Linked DNA regions of Homo sapiens: all the other regions are linked to region 1. Evidence: promoter capture Hi-C in human tissues and cell types (Jung and others, 2019). All regions are on one chromosome and are shown on one strand. The core of a region is centred on a gene start or on the middle of the fragment in contact, and the rest is flanking DNA. Distances in the headings are between cores, read along the strand shown.

Region 1 (2,681 bases), core at 124-2,623:
AGACTTGACCTTCATGGAAGCAACACCAGTGAGACTGAGCAATCAGCACTGCCCAGTCTCTCTGAACAAACTCCCACTCCCACATCCCCTCCACAGGAAGTATCAGCAACAGCCGATCTCCTCCCGCTTCTTACAGCCTGTCTGTCTGCCAGGTTGTCTGCTCCAAAGGGCAGAATACAGTTTGGCAGGGGTTAAGAGTACTACTAACAGAAGAGGTGGAAGAGGTCCTTGGGAACTTCGGGCTCCCCCAGTTCCCTTCCTCTTACCAGGTGCTCTCCCTCCACACCTCATTCTCAAAAGGCTTCCTGAGGTAGGGCAGGGGAAGAGGAGTCAGTGGAAGTGTGGCTCACCCAGGAACCGCCCACCCTTCCAGCCAAGTCTCCATCAGGAGGCGGCTACCAGACAACCCCCGACCCATCCCTCCTTCCCAAAAAAGGCAACAATCGCAACAGCTGAGAACCGGCAGACCTCGGTTCACCCCGGTCCAGATCAAGGGGAAGAAGCAGTCAGCGAAAGCAGCAGAATCATCATGAACTCCATGACCCCAGCTATGCCCCTTCAGCCTGGGAGCTCAGTTTGCTGGGTATCCAGCTCACCTAGGGCTGCACCAGGCCTGGACCTCACTGGATCTCGCCTCGCCCTCGGGCCCACCTGAATGCACAGGACTGGGACAGGGTCTGGGTTCTTAGATTCCGGACCGGTCTTCCCAAATATCCCATCCCAGAAAGGCCCCAAGAGCCTAGCCGGGGATCCTGCCCCCAAGTCAGGGCACTGCCCCCATCGGAACGATAGGAAGGAGGGGTGCAAGGGAAGAGAAGGGGACCAGGAACTCAGGAGAAGACAGCTAAGGAAATCTTTGAAAAAGAAATGGCAAGGAGAGAGCCCAGAGGTGGAACCTCTAGGAACGGGAGAGTGTGTGTGGAGGGGTGAGGATCTGGGGGGACCCAGGGGATGACAAGGGGACATGGGGGAGCCGAGGCGGAAACTCCTGGTTTCTGAAGCACAAGGAGGCACAGGGGTGCCTGGGAGGGGGCTCGCGCGCCGCGGAGCCGGCGAGAAGGTGGTGCCCCGGAGACTCCGGGCACTGGGGAGCCCAGAGGTAGGCCGAACACCGCGGGAGGTCCCCAGGGGGCCGGCCCGGAGACAGAGCCCCAGATGCCCCGGGCGCCCCGGGCCGGGCAGCTGGCCGAGGGCGTGTGTAAGTGGGTTTCGAGAGGTGACAGCTCGCGCCCCTTTCCCCACCCCGTCCACTCACCTGGGCTCGCCGCGCCCGGCCGCCCGGCAGGCAGCCCCAGGCCCCGGCCGCTCCGTCCCGCCGCCGGCCGCAGCGCTGCTCCGGCGCCTCCTTTTGTTTGTCCCTCACTGCACCACTCAGCCTCCTCCGCCCCGGAAGTGACGTCACCGCCGGGCGCGAACGCGGCGGCCAGGGCGTCGCCATCTTTATGAGGAGAATTCTAGCGGCGCTTTCTCCCGCTCTCGCCTCCGCGCTAGCGCCCTGCTGCTTCGGGGCGGAAGTAGCGGAGCCGGGCTCGGCCCCCTTAAAGGGACAGGGACTGCTGCAACCTACGGGGTGTACTTGGGAACGAGGGGTGAAGCGGCCCAGGTGAGGGTGAGTAGCTGTGTCGGAGCGCCACTTCCCCAAGGTCAGGTGCCGAGGCTGGGAGGGTCGGCTAACGGTTCCGAGCTTGGTTGTGCTAGAGTGCTTAATGAGTTTGATGCTACTAAGTATAACGGAGTGGCTGCACAGAATGATTGAGCCGCCCGCGGGAATCAACTGCGCGTGCTGCTCGCTGATTCTCGCTCGGACACTGGGGCTGGTCCTGTCTGCACCCAAATCCCCCTCCCACGACCGCGCCGGTGGAGATGATACCCGAGACAACAGAATTCTGGACAGATCTGGGGTTGGAATTGGGTCCCCAGACTCCAACTCTGCAGCTCCATAAATCCCGCTGGGTCCTCGCAAATTCCCTGGCTGATAACAGTACCGGCAACCAAATTAAAAAATAATCCATACAGTGGAATACTGTGCAGCCATTAAGACGAACAATGTTTAATATGCACTAATGTAGGGTGACTTCTAAGATACCTTAGGTTAAAAAAGGAAACAACAGTAAAAACAGCGTTGGGCCGGTTGCGGTGGCTCACGTCTGTAATCCCAGCACTTTGGGAGGCCGAGGCGGGCGGATCACGAGGTCAGGAGATCGAGACCATCCTGGCTAACTTGGTGAAACCTCATCTCTACTAAAAATACAAAAAAATCAGCCGGGCGTGGTGGTGGGCGCCTGTAGTCCCAGCTACTCTGGAGGCTGAGGCAGGAGAATGGCATGAACTCGGGAGGTGGAGCTTGCAGTGAGCCGAGATCGCGCCGCTGCACTCCAGCCTGGGCGACAGAGCGAGACTCCGTCTAAAAAAAGAAAAAACAGCGTTGATGGGTGCTATCCATCTTTGCGTAGAAGGACGCCTGAGGGTGGGCGTATCTGCGGGTGTGCGCGCCAGCTGTCTGATAAGATGCACAAGAAGTTGTTAATTGCGGTTGTCTCCGACAGAATTGGGGTCTTGGGTACCTGGGCCAGGGCGAGAAATTTACTACCATGTGCACAGATAGATAATTAAAAATAAGATGATGAAGATAGTCGTGGCTCCCATCCATCACGTGTTAAGCCAATGCCTAGTTTCACTTC
Region 2 (2,681 bases), core at 50-2,549, 340 kb after region 1:
CTGGACTTAAACAATCCTCCCACCTCAGCCTCCCAAAGTGTTGGGACTGCAGGCATGAGCCACTAAGCACGGCCTATTGTGTCTTTCAAAGATTTTAATACACTTTCACATCTCTTGCTAGATAAAATAGGGTCAGTTATTAGTACATAATTCCAAAAAAGGAAATGACAGAAAAAGAAGTAATATTCCCAAGGTGTAGGTCAAGAAGACCAAAAGGAATAAATGCATACCGCTCTATACCTGGACTTGTATACTATCATGATTTACATAGCTCAAGGCAGAGGAAATTGATCATATTGAACCAATATATCAGCAATGGGTTTTTCAAAAAACCAAGCTTTATTATTAATTTTTTTTGGCACCTTAATTAACAATTCATAGAATGGGTCACTTCAGGCCACTCAAGAGTACCAGTGAACACTCCCCCACAAACACACCCTGCCACAAGACATTTAGCACAGAGGAACAGATCCATGGCCACTGCCTCTGCAGTATCAAAGAGAATTAGTCTTTCCACAAAACAAATTTTAACAGCCAATCTCTGGATTTCTGTAGTGGCTTTAGTCAGGCATATTTATCATCATATTAGCAGTGTTCAGTTCCTGCCCAACATCTTTATTTAATCCCAATTCAATGCTTATGGATGCTCAGCTCATGTTTAATGTTGCAAGCCCCATCTTAGCCCATCTTAATTCAAACAGAAAAGAAACAAAACAAAACAAAAACAAAAAAGGTACCTGCCTGGTTCATGGATCCCTAGCCATCCAGGGACCAAATTCCAAATTAGGATGACAAAGAGTTTCCCTTAGTTCAAAATGACATGTGTTTCCAGTCCTAATCCCAGATGTTAATCTAGCCATAGTGTCACCTGAGCCTTAGTCCATGTGTATATCACATACTTCCTCTAGCTTTAGAATGACTTCACAAGCTGAGAAAGGCAAAACAACCATAACCCAGACTTGCATGTAAGTATCTGGCCTCAACTATTAAATAATACTTAAAAGGGAACCTTATGAGCCTTAGCTCTTTCTGGAAATTCATCTGAACAGGGGTGAGGGTGGGTAGGTGGGTGCAAATGGTGGGCTCCCTCCAGCTCAGAGTGCATTTGTTAAGGTATTGCCAACTTTCTGAAAGACACTAGAGACAAGGGAGGAGACCAAGTGCTAAAGACCTTTTATCACTTTTGCAAAAAACAAGAAAGGCCAACTCCATTTATTTTATCACGTGGATCTCTTAAGGAACTACCAAATCTACTAAGGGACCTCCAAGAATTTTGTGACCCATGAAAATCTCCTCTCCTAGTCACAAGGCATAAATACATAAAAATACATAATGGCAAATTTCTGAATCTGACATGACTTCTCCCAAATACAGCTGTCTTCAGTTCCTTTATTATTGCCTCTTTGCAGCAGCGGTGATGGTGGGTGATGGAGTGACATCAGGAGCGCCAGAAGGAGGAAGTCAGAAAGCCCTTGGGGACAGGAATGTCCTTGTGTTGCAAACATTTCTGGTCAGGGAAAGATGAAGAAAACAGAATGAGTTTCTGATAACAGTGTTCCCAACACTTAATGGTTAAAAGAAGCTTTGAGGAACACCATATTTCAGCCCTATGGAACAGTGAACAAAAAGGAAAAAGCCAGTAAGACTGATGGTTCTGTATAAGATGTCCACTTCTGCATGATCTGCTCCAGACAACAAATGAAATGCTCTTATTATTCCTGTCCCACTCTTGTCTCCCTACAGGCTAACCTCATCTTTCACAATCACTATTTTCACAATCGAGCTTTGAGAAGCTGAAAAGTCAGCAGGCTATCTTGGCAAACCCACTATAGTGTTCTAAATTCTTTGTCAAAATTAACCTTTTACAATCTCTTGGCACTTGGAAGTAGGGGAAGAGTCCAACTGAAAGTGCAGTTTGATCTCATGGAGAAAAGTGATGACACTTACCAATTCCCCAGACCTGAGACTAAGAAAATAACCTTGGCCAACATGCAAAAAAAATATATATTAATGAGAGGAGATACACTAAATATATTTTACTCATCTCAGCATAGCTTTCTCACAGGCAGTATAGAGAATGATACATATAAAGAAGAGGAAATGGCAGCCCTTACTCCAAAGGTTAAGAGGGAATTAGGAACAAAAAGAAGGGTTTGGAAGAACTAAGGAAGAGAGTGCAATCAGAGCATCGGAAGGTCCAAGACTTGTCAGACATAGGTGCATTCCAGCCCAACAACAGTGTGGGGCATGTTGGTCTAAGGGCATCTTACCTCCAAGAACTGCTTGAGGCGTATGAAGGAGCCCATCTGTCCTGAGCTTGTGATAGCTTCAATTCTACAGGGAGAGAAAGACACATGAATCACACCTATGATATACACCTATCTTTTGGAAACGGTGTCTCACTCTGTCACCTAGGCTGGAGTGCAGCGCGGTGGTGCGATCATAGCTCACCGAGGCCTTGAACTCTTGGGCTCAAGCGATCCTCCTGTCTCAGCTTCCCTAGTAGCTGGGACTATAGATGCATGCCATCATGCCTGGCTAATTTTTTTTTTGTAGAGATGGGGTCTTGCTATATTGCCCAGGCTGGTTTTGAACACCTGGGCTCAAGTGATCCTCCTCCTGTGGCCTCCCAAAGAGCTGCAATTATAGGCATAATTATAGGCATAAGCCACTGTGCTCAG
Region 3 (2,681 bases), core at 58-2,557, 320 kb after region 1:
TGCTGGGATTACAAGCATGAGCCACTGCACTGGCCTATTTTCTATTCTTAAAACAGACGTCAAGTCCTTAAAACCAAAAACTGGGAGTGACCTTGAAAAGCTTAATGTCTGCTCAGAGCAGTTTTTGTAATAAAATATATACATATATATATATATATATATATATATATATATATACACATACATGTATATATATATTTTTTTTTAGACGGAGTCTCACTCTGTCGCCCAGGCTGGAGTGCAGTGGCGTGATCTCGGCTCACTGCAAGCTCCACCTCCTGGGTTCACGCCATTCTCCTGCCTCAGCCTCCTGAGTAGCTGGGACCACAGGCGCCTGCCATCACGCCCGGCTAATATTTTCTATTTTTTAGTAGAGATGGCGTTTCACCGTGCTAGCCAGGATGGTCTCGATCTCCTGACCTCGTGATCCGCCCACCTTGGCCTCCCAAAGTTTTGTAATATTTAATGATAACAGGCAGTCATAGTTTACACTGCTGCCCTAAGTCTGTCAGCCTATTTTGGAGAAGGCTGATTTCTGATGAGGACCCTGACAAGGATCACTATAATCACATTTACTACAAGGTAAACAAGACTTCACTCAGTCACCTTCCAGTTGTCTCCTCCAGCCGTATCTCATGTCAAGCTCCCTCACCAACACCAATTACAGGTCCTGGACAGGGTCCATTTGAAAGCTCAAAAAGTTCCCTTTCCCAGGAGTGCACTCTCCTCTCCCACTCCCAACCCTACCATCTAATATCATACAGATCTCGGCTGGGCGCGGTGGCTCACGCCTGTAATCCCAGCACTTTGGGAAGCCGAGGCAGGTGGATCACAAGGTCATGAGCTCCAGACCAGCCTGGCCAACATGGTGAAACCACATCTCTACTAAAAATACAAAAATTAGCCGGGTGTGGTGGCACGCGCCTGTAGCCCCAGCTACTCGGGAGGCTGAGGCAGAAGAATCGCTTGAACCTGAGAGGCGGAGGTTGTGATGAGCCCAGATCGCGTCACTGCACTCCAGCCTGTCAAAAAAATAAAAAATATAAAAAACAAATCATACAGATCTCTGAGTCCAAAGCAAATGCCTCGTCCTCTATGAAGTCTTTCTGAATCAGAAGTCTCCACTCCCTGACCACCCACCTCTATCATTCATCTTATAACACTGCCACATTCTGCCATGAAATTATTGTGTTCTCCCTACCACATTCATAAGTCCTTTAAGGAACTCTAAAGAAGACCATATTTTACTCTTACTCTCTGGGCACAGAACTCAGGACTTGGCACATATTATAGATCCAATTATATTCAGAGCTTGGAAATAAAGAAACTGCCATCGTTTTATAATTAAGTAGTTGGGAGACAGGTAATTTAGTAAGCAAGTTGCAAAGGCCAGGATGACCTGGGATCCTCCGGTTCCCAGAATATGGCACAATAGACACAGTGATTCTTAACATGATTAGAGTTGACATATTGACATATTCTTTTTTTTTTTTTTTTTTTTTTTTTTGAGACGGAGTCTCGCTCTGTTGCCCAGGCTGGAGTGCAGTGGTGCAATTTCGGCTCACTGCAAGCTCCGCCTCCCCGGTTCATGCCATTCTCCTGCCTCAGCCTCCCGACTAGCTGGGACTACAAGCATCCACCACCTCGCCCGGCTAATTTTTTGTATTTTTAGCAGAGATGGGGTTTCACCATATTAGCCAGGATGGTCTCGATCTCTTGACCTCGTGATCTGCCTGCCTCGGCCTCCAAAAGAGCTGGGATTACAGGCGTGAGCCACCGCGCCTGGCCTTTTTTTTTTTGAGATGGAGTCTTGCTCTGTCGCCAGGCTGGATTGCAGTGGTGCGATCTTGACTCACTGCAACCTCCGCCTCCAGGGTCAAGCAATTCTCCTGCCTCAGCCTCCCGAGTAGCTGGGACTACAATCACAAACCACCACGCCCAGCTAATTTTTGTATTTCTCTTCTTTTTAAGAGACAGGCTTTCACTATGTTGGCCAGGATGATCTTGATCTCGACCTTGTGGTCCGCCCGCCTCGGCCTCCCAAAGTGCTGGGATTACAGGCGTGAACCACCGTGCCTGGCCGACATATTATTTATTGATGGCTGTTTGGTTATTTATTAGTTCCTTTCACTTCTTTTTTTTTTTTTTTTTTTTGAGATGGGGTCTTGCTCTGTTGCCCAGGCTGGAGTGCAGTGATGCTATCTGGGTTCACAGCAACATCCGCCTCCCAGGTTCAAGTGACTCTCCTGCCTCAGCCTCCCCAGTAGCTGGGATTACAGGCACCCGCCACCACACGCGACTAATTTTTGTACTTTTGTAGAGATTGGGTTTCACCATATTGGCCAGACTGGTCTCGAACTGACCTCAGGTGATCCACCCACCTCAGCCTCCCAAAGTGCTGGGATTACAGACGTGAGCCACAGCACCCGGCCTTCACTCCCTCTTTATTAGTTCCTTTTCACATCTGCACTTTGGAGTGAAAAAACAGTGAGGCAGACACAGTGGCTCACACCTGTAATCCCAATACTTTGGGAGGCGAGGCGGGCAGATCACCTGAGGTCAGGAGTTTGAGAACAGCCTGGCCAACGTGATAAAATTCTGTCTCTACTAAAAATACCAAAATTAGCTGGGTGTGGTGGCACATGCCTGTAGTCCCATCTACTCAGGAGGCTGGGGCTGGA
Region 4 (2,681 bases), core at 80-2,579, 290 kb after region 1:
GTCTTTGAATTCTAAGCCTTCTCATTTCAGGGAGACATGCAACCCACAGAAACCCAACTGAGCATACGTGGAGGTGCCAGCGTGGAACAAACACACAGCCACTCTCTGTGCCTTGCCTTGTTGGTGCTGTTGAGTAAGGTAAGGATATCTCCCTTCTTCATGGTGACCTCTCGGGGACTCTTCTCCTGATAGTCGTAGAGAGCCAAGACCAGCTCCTTCCCAGTCTCATCATCCGTGGGGGCCACTTGTTGCTAAAAATCCAAAGGAAGGGCAAACATGGTAAAAACACGTCCGCGCTGAGTCATCTAAGTACAGAGCAGATTCAAATGCCACCAGCTGTACCAAATGTACCAAATATACACTCATGAGAATTCTTCACTGAAGCTACCAATAAAATCTGATCCAAGAACTTTAAATTTTTGGTATCTTTAAAAAAAAAATCTCATTTTGTCTGGGCACGGTGGCTCATACGTGTAATCTCAGCACTTTGGGAGGCTGAGGCAGGCAGATCACCTGAGGTCGGGGGTTCGAGACCAGCCTGACCAACATGGAGAAACCCCATCTCTACTAAAAATACAAAACTAGACAGGCGTGGTGGTGCGTGCCTGTAATCCCAGCTACTCGGGAGGATGAGTCAGGAGAATCACTTGAACCTGGGAGGCGGAGGTTGCGGTGAGCCAAGATCAGGCCAATGCACTTCAACCTGGGCAACAAGAGTGAAACTCCATCTCAAAAAAAAAAAAAAAAAATCTCATTTTAAAGTAGGGCCGGGCACAGTGCTCATACCTATAATCCCAGCACTTTGGGAGGCCAAGGCGGGCAGATCATGAGGTCAGGAATTCAAGACCAGCCCGGCCAACATAGTGAAACCCCATCTCTACTAAAAATACAAAAATTAGCTGGGCGTGGTGGCGGGCGCCAGTAATCCCAGCTACTCAGGAGGCTGAGGCAGGGTAATTGCTTCAACCTGGGAGGCAGAGGTTGCAGTGAGCCAAGATAGTGCCACTGCACTCTAGCAAGACTCCATCTCAAAAAAAAAAAAAAAATTTAGCTGGGCATGGTGGTGAACACCTGTAATCCCACCTACTCAGGAGGCTGAGTCAGGAAAATCGCTTGAACCCAGGAGGCGGAGGTTGCAGTGAGCCGAGGTTGTGCCACTGCACTCCAGCCTAGGCGACGGAGTGAGACTCTGTCTCTAAATAAATAAATAAATAAATAAATCTTATTTTAAACTCTGTAAATCTTTGTGTCACAAGAGTTAATAGCAGAGTCAAATGGGGCCTATGATAGGAACACCTGCTGACAGTATCTGAGTCCTTCAAGGCCTCCCTCCAGTAACCCATAAACTGTTACAAGTTTACCCGGCAGGACTGTGCTTGTTCTCGCAAAGCCTGGATGCTGCTGCCGTAGGCACTGAGATCTGACATCAAAGCTTCGTGTTTCTTCAGTAGAGCCTGAAACCAAAACCACACATGGAGCACTGTGCAGGGGCTGAAGCCTCCCATCCTCCACTGCCTCGCCAACCTGCCATCCTGCCTCAACAGCCTTTCTCAGTTGCACAATGACGTAATCACCTCCTGCCCTTCTTACAGTGCTAATATCATTTTCAAAGTTTTTCAGGATTCTCATCTTTTGGGACAATCATATATATTATGATTATAGCTTACTCATCCTGGTCTAGGCACAGAGGCTTATGCCTGTAATCCCAGCACTTTGGGAGGCTGAGGCAGGCAGACAGCTTGAGCCCAGGAGTTCAAGACCAGCCTGGGCAACATACTGAAACCTCATCTCTACAGAAAATACAAAAATTAGCCAGATGTGATGGTGCGTGCCTGTAGTCCAAGCTACTCAGGGGACTGAGGCAGGAAGACTGCTGAGCACAGGAGGTCAAAGCTGTAGGGAGTCGTGATTGCATCACTGTACTCCAGCCCTAGCGACAGAACGAGCGCGGTGCCTCACGCCTGTAATCCCAGGACTTTGCGAGGCTGAGGCAGGCAGATCACTTGAGGTCAGGAGTTCAAGACCAAACTGGCCAATGTGGTGAAACCCCATCTCTCCTAAAAATACAAAAAAAGTTAGCTGGGCGTGGTGGCGGGCGCCTGTAATCCCAGCTACTTAGGAGGCCAAGGCAGAAGAATCGCTTGAACCCAGGAGGTGGAGGTTGCAGTTATCCGAGATCATGCCACTGCACTCCAACCTGGATGACAGAGTGAGACTCTGTCTCAGAAAAAAAAAAAGAAAAGGAAAAATTCAACTCATTCTAGTTTTTGTGAAGAGTGGTAAGAGCTAGGTACAGGAACTATACCTAGACCTTTATGAATAAAATTTGAGAATTTTAGTCAAAAAACAGATAACCAGTAAAAAACCAAGTACATCTATGTATGTATGTGTGCATGTTGGTATGTGGGTATATGTGCGCACTGGTATGTACATGTGTATGCTGGTATGTTTGTAGGTATGTATATATGTATGTGTGCATGTTGGTATGTTAGTATGTATGTAAGCACACATATGGTTTCACATAGATGAAACAAGAGTGACAAATGTTAACGGTTGAAGGTGAGTGAGAAGTCATCTTCTCTCTCCTTTAGGTATGATTACATTTTCATAATAAAAAGTGAAAAATGGGCCAGAAGGGGTGGTTCATTCCTATCATCCTAGCATTTTGGGAGGCTTTGGCA
Region 5 (2,681 bases), core at 74-2,573, 270 kb after region 1:
GCTGATGTTCCATCTTCAAAAGGAAGCACTCCTTGAAAGAAAATGGTCAATTACTGCCCCGCAAATCAAACACTGTACAGAATTTGCCTAAGTGATAAACTGGGGGAGAGAAGGGGGAGTAAGGCGTTGCAGGCTAATTACAACAGAAAAAGCCACATCCCACAGGGACACTTGAATGGAGTGTAATGGATGATTAGAAATGAAAAGGATGGATGAAGAGACACCAGCAAACCGTGTGACCACAATAATAACAATAATCTACGCAGAGTAACACAAATACTGGAGCTCATTTAACTACAACTCTTAAAAAAATTAAAAACTTACCAGCAGCTTGGAAAGCTACAAAAACAGATTAAAAGAACAAGAGTTCAGTACACTGATGTGGACACACATATCAGCTATTAAATAGAAACTCATTTTGTCATACTTCCCCCAGGAAGCTCAGCATTTGGGAACAGTAATAGAAGGGGGATTCTATAGACTTTTATTACAGCAGAAATAGTTTTAATGGAGACAAATGAGGAAGGCAACTTTTAAATGGCTCTGAAACTTGACTAGGGCTTTCCCACTGGCTGGGCTTACTGAAATATTTCTCACTGACTTCCCATGGGTGCAAGGAGATTGTTTTATAAATGCTTTATTTAACAAAATCTACTCAATAACATAAGGCTACATCAAGACCAACACCCAGTCACTTCAGCTTACCTGGATGTTGGTGGGATCCTTGTACGACTCATCACTCGCTGTTTGCAATTTTTCACTGATCCAAGCCTCAATCTCATCCACATCCCGGCTGAACTGTTGGAGGGTTTGAGATTCTCCTAGCTTTGACCTTTTCTCAATCATCTGGGCTTTCAGACGTCGCCACCTGAAAGAGTGAAACCATGAGATCCAACATGAGCATATCTTACCGTGGAGAAGGAAGTGGGGAGACAGAACAGGCCTGGGCCTTCGTATGAGGGGATGCATCCTCTCAGGGCTGGTGACTATGTCAGTGCCACAGGACACCCACCTGTCCAAGACCTCATTGCGCCGGCTAGAAATGTCTCCCTTGGCATAATGGCCGGCAGCGATGAGCTGGTCGGCAAAGGCCTGCAGAGCAGCAATCTTCTCTTCCTGTCAGAAAACAAAGGCATGAGATCAAGGTGGGCCTGTGGCTGGGCCCTGCCTGGACTGCCAGTCTTGAGAAAAGGATAGTTATTTTGGGTGACTGAGAACTAGCTGGTGGCAGGATCAGAATACACTGACACTTTAGAAGCAAGAGTGTAAAATGCCAAAAGAAAGCTTGATTTCATTCATTACTAGAGTAGAGTTTAACTCAAGAAGTCTCCAGGTCACTCAGGTGGGGCAGGTGTTAGAATATCAGAACAGAACAAAATTAAGCCTGATAATAGGAAAATGCTGTCAGATTTACAGCAAAGTGACGTATAAATCAAACAGTTTTACATCTTCCTTGTTGTTTGTTCATTATTCCCTTACCTACCCACACATTTGTTTTCCATCCCTTTGATAATATTTTTTTTTCCTGTGGCACCCCCATTATTAAAATCTCAGAAATACCAGAATCTATAAAGTTTTAAAGATTATTTATGTACATATTTTTCTTAGACAACGCAGGTATTCCTTGGAGATATAACAGTGACTATATAAGCCAAGAAACAGATGTCAATCAGGAAAAATCCAGACTCCAACTCCATGGTCCAGAGGCCTCACCTGGACGTTAATCGCTTTGTCAAAGTCTTCATGTTTTTTGATCAGAGCCTCTACGCTGTCCAGTGAGTCTCCTTTGTCTTCGGTATTCAAGAAGGCCTCCCGGGCAGCCATCCAGTTCTCAGCTTGCTCACAGTCCCGATGGAACAGCTAAAGAGGGCAAGAGGCAGGTGAGAAAATGAGGCCCTTCAGCAAGGAAACACTTGGTCAGAAACCAGGAGCACACACACCTGCAGTTCAAGGCACTGATCCAGCATCATCCTGCGCTGAACCCAGGCCTTCTCCAGGTCTGCACGCTCCTGGTCAAGAATATCAAGTTTCTGCTTGATCTCAGGGCTGGCATAGTGTCCGTGAGCCAACAGCTGCTGTCCAAACTGCTCAAATGCCTGGAAAGTGCCAGCCCTGGCATCGATTTCTGTCCGGTGTTCCTGCCAAAAGGAGGGAAGGGATTAGGTAACTGGCAGCAGATGCCCACTCTGACGTCAACCACCGACTCACCACAAAGGGTGGGAATGAGGCCTCTAGGGCCCTGCAGAGCAGCCACGTCTTTGCTACTCAGCAGGCAGGTCCACCCACCTGGTGTCGCTCCAGCAATGCCTCAGCTCCGGTGACATCCTTGGCTAGCTCATCTGAGGACACCAACCCCCGTATTCCATTGATCCAAGACATGAGGTCCCTGGAAACCAGCACCCCAGAAAAATAGCTATTATATTACCTGGTAAGGAGATCTTCTGCCCAGGAAAACAGAGAATGACATAATTCTTGCCTCAGAAAGTTATCTTGGGTTAATCTGATCTACTGAATGAGGCTAGGTCTTTGGGCAAAGTGTTAAAAAACTTCTTGTTATTTTTTTAAAAGTCCGAATTTCTCAGAGGAAAAGTCAGTAGGCTTATAATTAAGATCTTTTCACCCTCCAGAATAACAAGTTCTAGCTACAATTAAGTCTTTGATAGCTTCAAATGAAAAAGCTT

Evidence for each region. Contacts are between HindIII fragments. The study calls those that stand out against the background at their distance.
Region 2: a contact is called between a fragment that was not itself captured here and the fragment with the promoter of LRRC8A in region 1, in 4 of the 25 tissues and cell types used here (dorsolateral prefrontal cortex, hippocampus, lymphoblastoid cells and 1 more).
Region 3: a fragment that was not itself captured here is called in contact with the fragment with the promoter of LRRC8A in region 1 in 1 of the 25 tissues and cell types used here (dorsolateral prefrontal cortex).
Region 4: a contact is called between a fragment that was not itself captured here and the fragment with the promoter of LRRC8A in region 1, in 2 of the 25 tissues and cell types used here (bladder and dorsolateral prefrontal cortex).
Region 5: a fragment that was not itself captured here is called in contact with the fragment with the promoter of LRRC8A in region 1 in 6 of the 25 tissues and cell types used here (H1 embryonic stem cells, aorta, dorsolateral prefrontal cortex and 3 more).

What each region holds. Positions count from the first base shown.
Region 1 is chr9:128,880,825-128,883,505 of GRCh38, reverse strand. LRRC8A (leucine rich repeat containing 8 VRAC subunit A) reads right to left here and starts at 1,373. Exons shown (of 4, transcript NM_019594.4): 1 at 1,256-1,373. KYAT1-SPOUT1 (KYAT1-SPOUT1 readthrough) reads left to right here and starts at 1,556. Exons shown (of 25, transcript NR_182311.1): 1 at 1,556-1,609. KYAT1 (kynurenine aminotransferase 1) reads left to right here and starts at 1,556. Exons shown (of 13, transcript NM_004059.5): 1 at 1,556-1,609. RefSeq lists a silencer at 1,027-1,306 and an enhancer at 1,337-1,486. The HindIII fragment of the contact is 17,929 bases long and covers 1-2,681 here.
Region 2 is chr9:128,539,928-128,542,608 of GRCh38, reverse strand. GLE1 (GLE1 RNA export mediator) reads right to left here. Exons shown (of 16, transcript NM_001003722.2): 15 at 2,271-2,334; 16 at 321-1,507. The coding sequence ends at 1,439. All of the region lies in intron 2 of LOC101929270 (a long non-coding RNA gene), which reads left to right. Among named protein-coding and RNA genes, the nearest start is that of SPTAN1, 11 kb to the left of the region's middle. The HindIII fragment of the contact is 3,623 bases long and covers 1-2,681 here.
Region 3 is chr9:128,560,489-128,563,169 of GRCh38, reverse strand. All of the region lies in intron 1 of SPTAN1 (spectrin alpha, non-erythrocytic 1), which reads right to left. Among named protein-coding and RNA genes, the nearest start is that of SPTAN1, 9.2 kb to the right of the region's middle. The HindIII fragment of the contact is 5,340 bases long and covers 1-2,681 here.
Region 4 is chr9:128,586,379-128,589,059 of GRCh38, reverse strand. SPTAN1 (spectrin alpha, non-erythrocytic 1) reads right to left here. Exons shown (of 57, transcript NM_001130438.3): 20 at 1,362-1,454; 21 at 117-251. Among named protein-coding and RNA genes, the nearest start is that of SPTAN1, 35 kb to the right of the region's middle. The HindIII fragment of the contact is 3,861 bases long and covers 1-2,681 here.
Region 5 is chr9:128,607,309-128,609,989 of GRCh38, reverse strand. SPTAN1 (spectrin alpha, non-erythrocytic 1) reads right to left here. Exons shown (of 57, transcript NM_001130438.3): 32 at 2,287-2,386; 33 at 1,941-2,138; 34 at 1,714-1,860; 35 at 1,013-1,116; 36 at 706-868; 37 at 325-339. Among named protein-coding and RNA genes, the nearest start is that of DYNC2I2, 48 kb to the left of the region's middle. The HindIII fragment of the contact is 5,536 bases long and covers 1-2,681 here.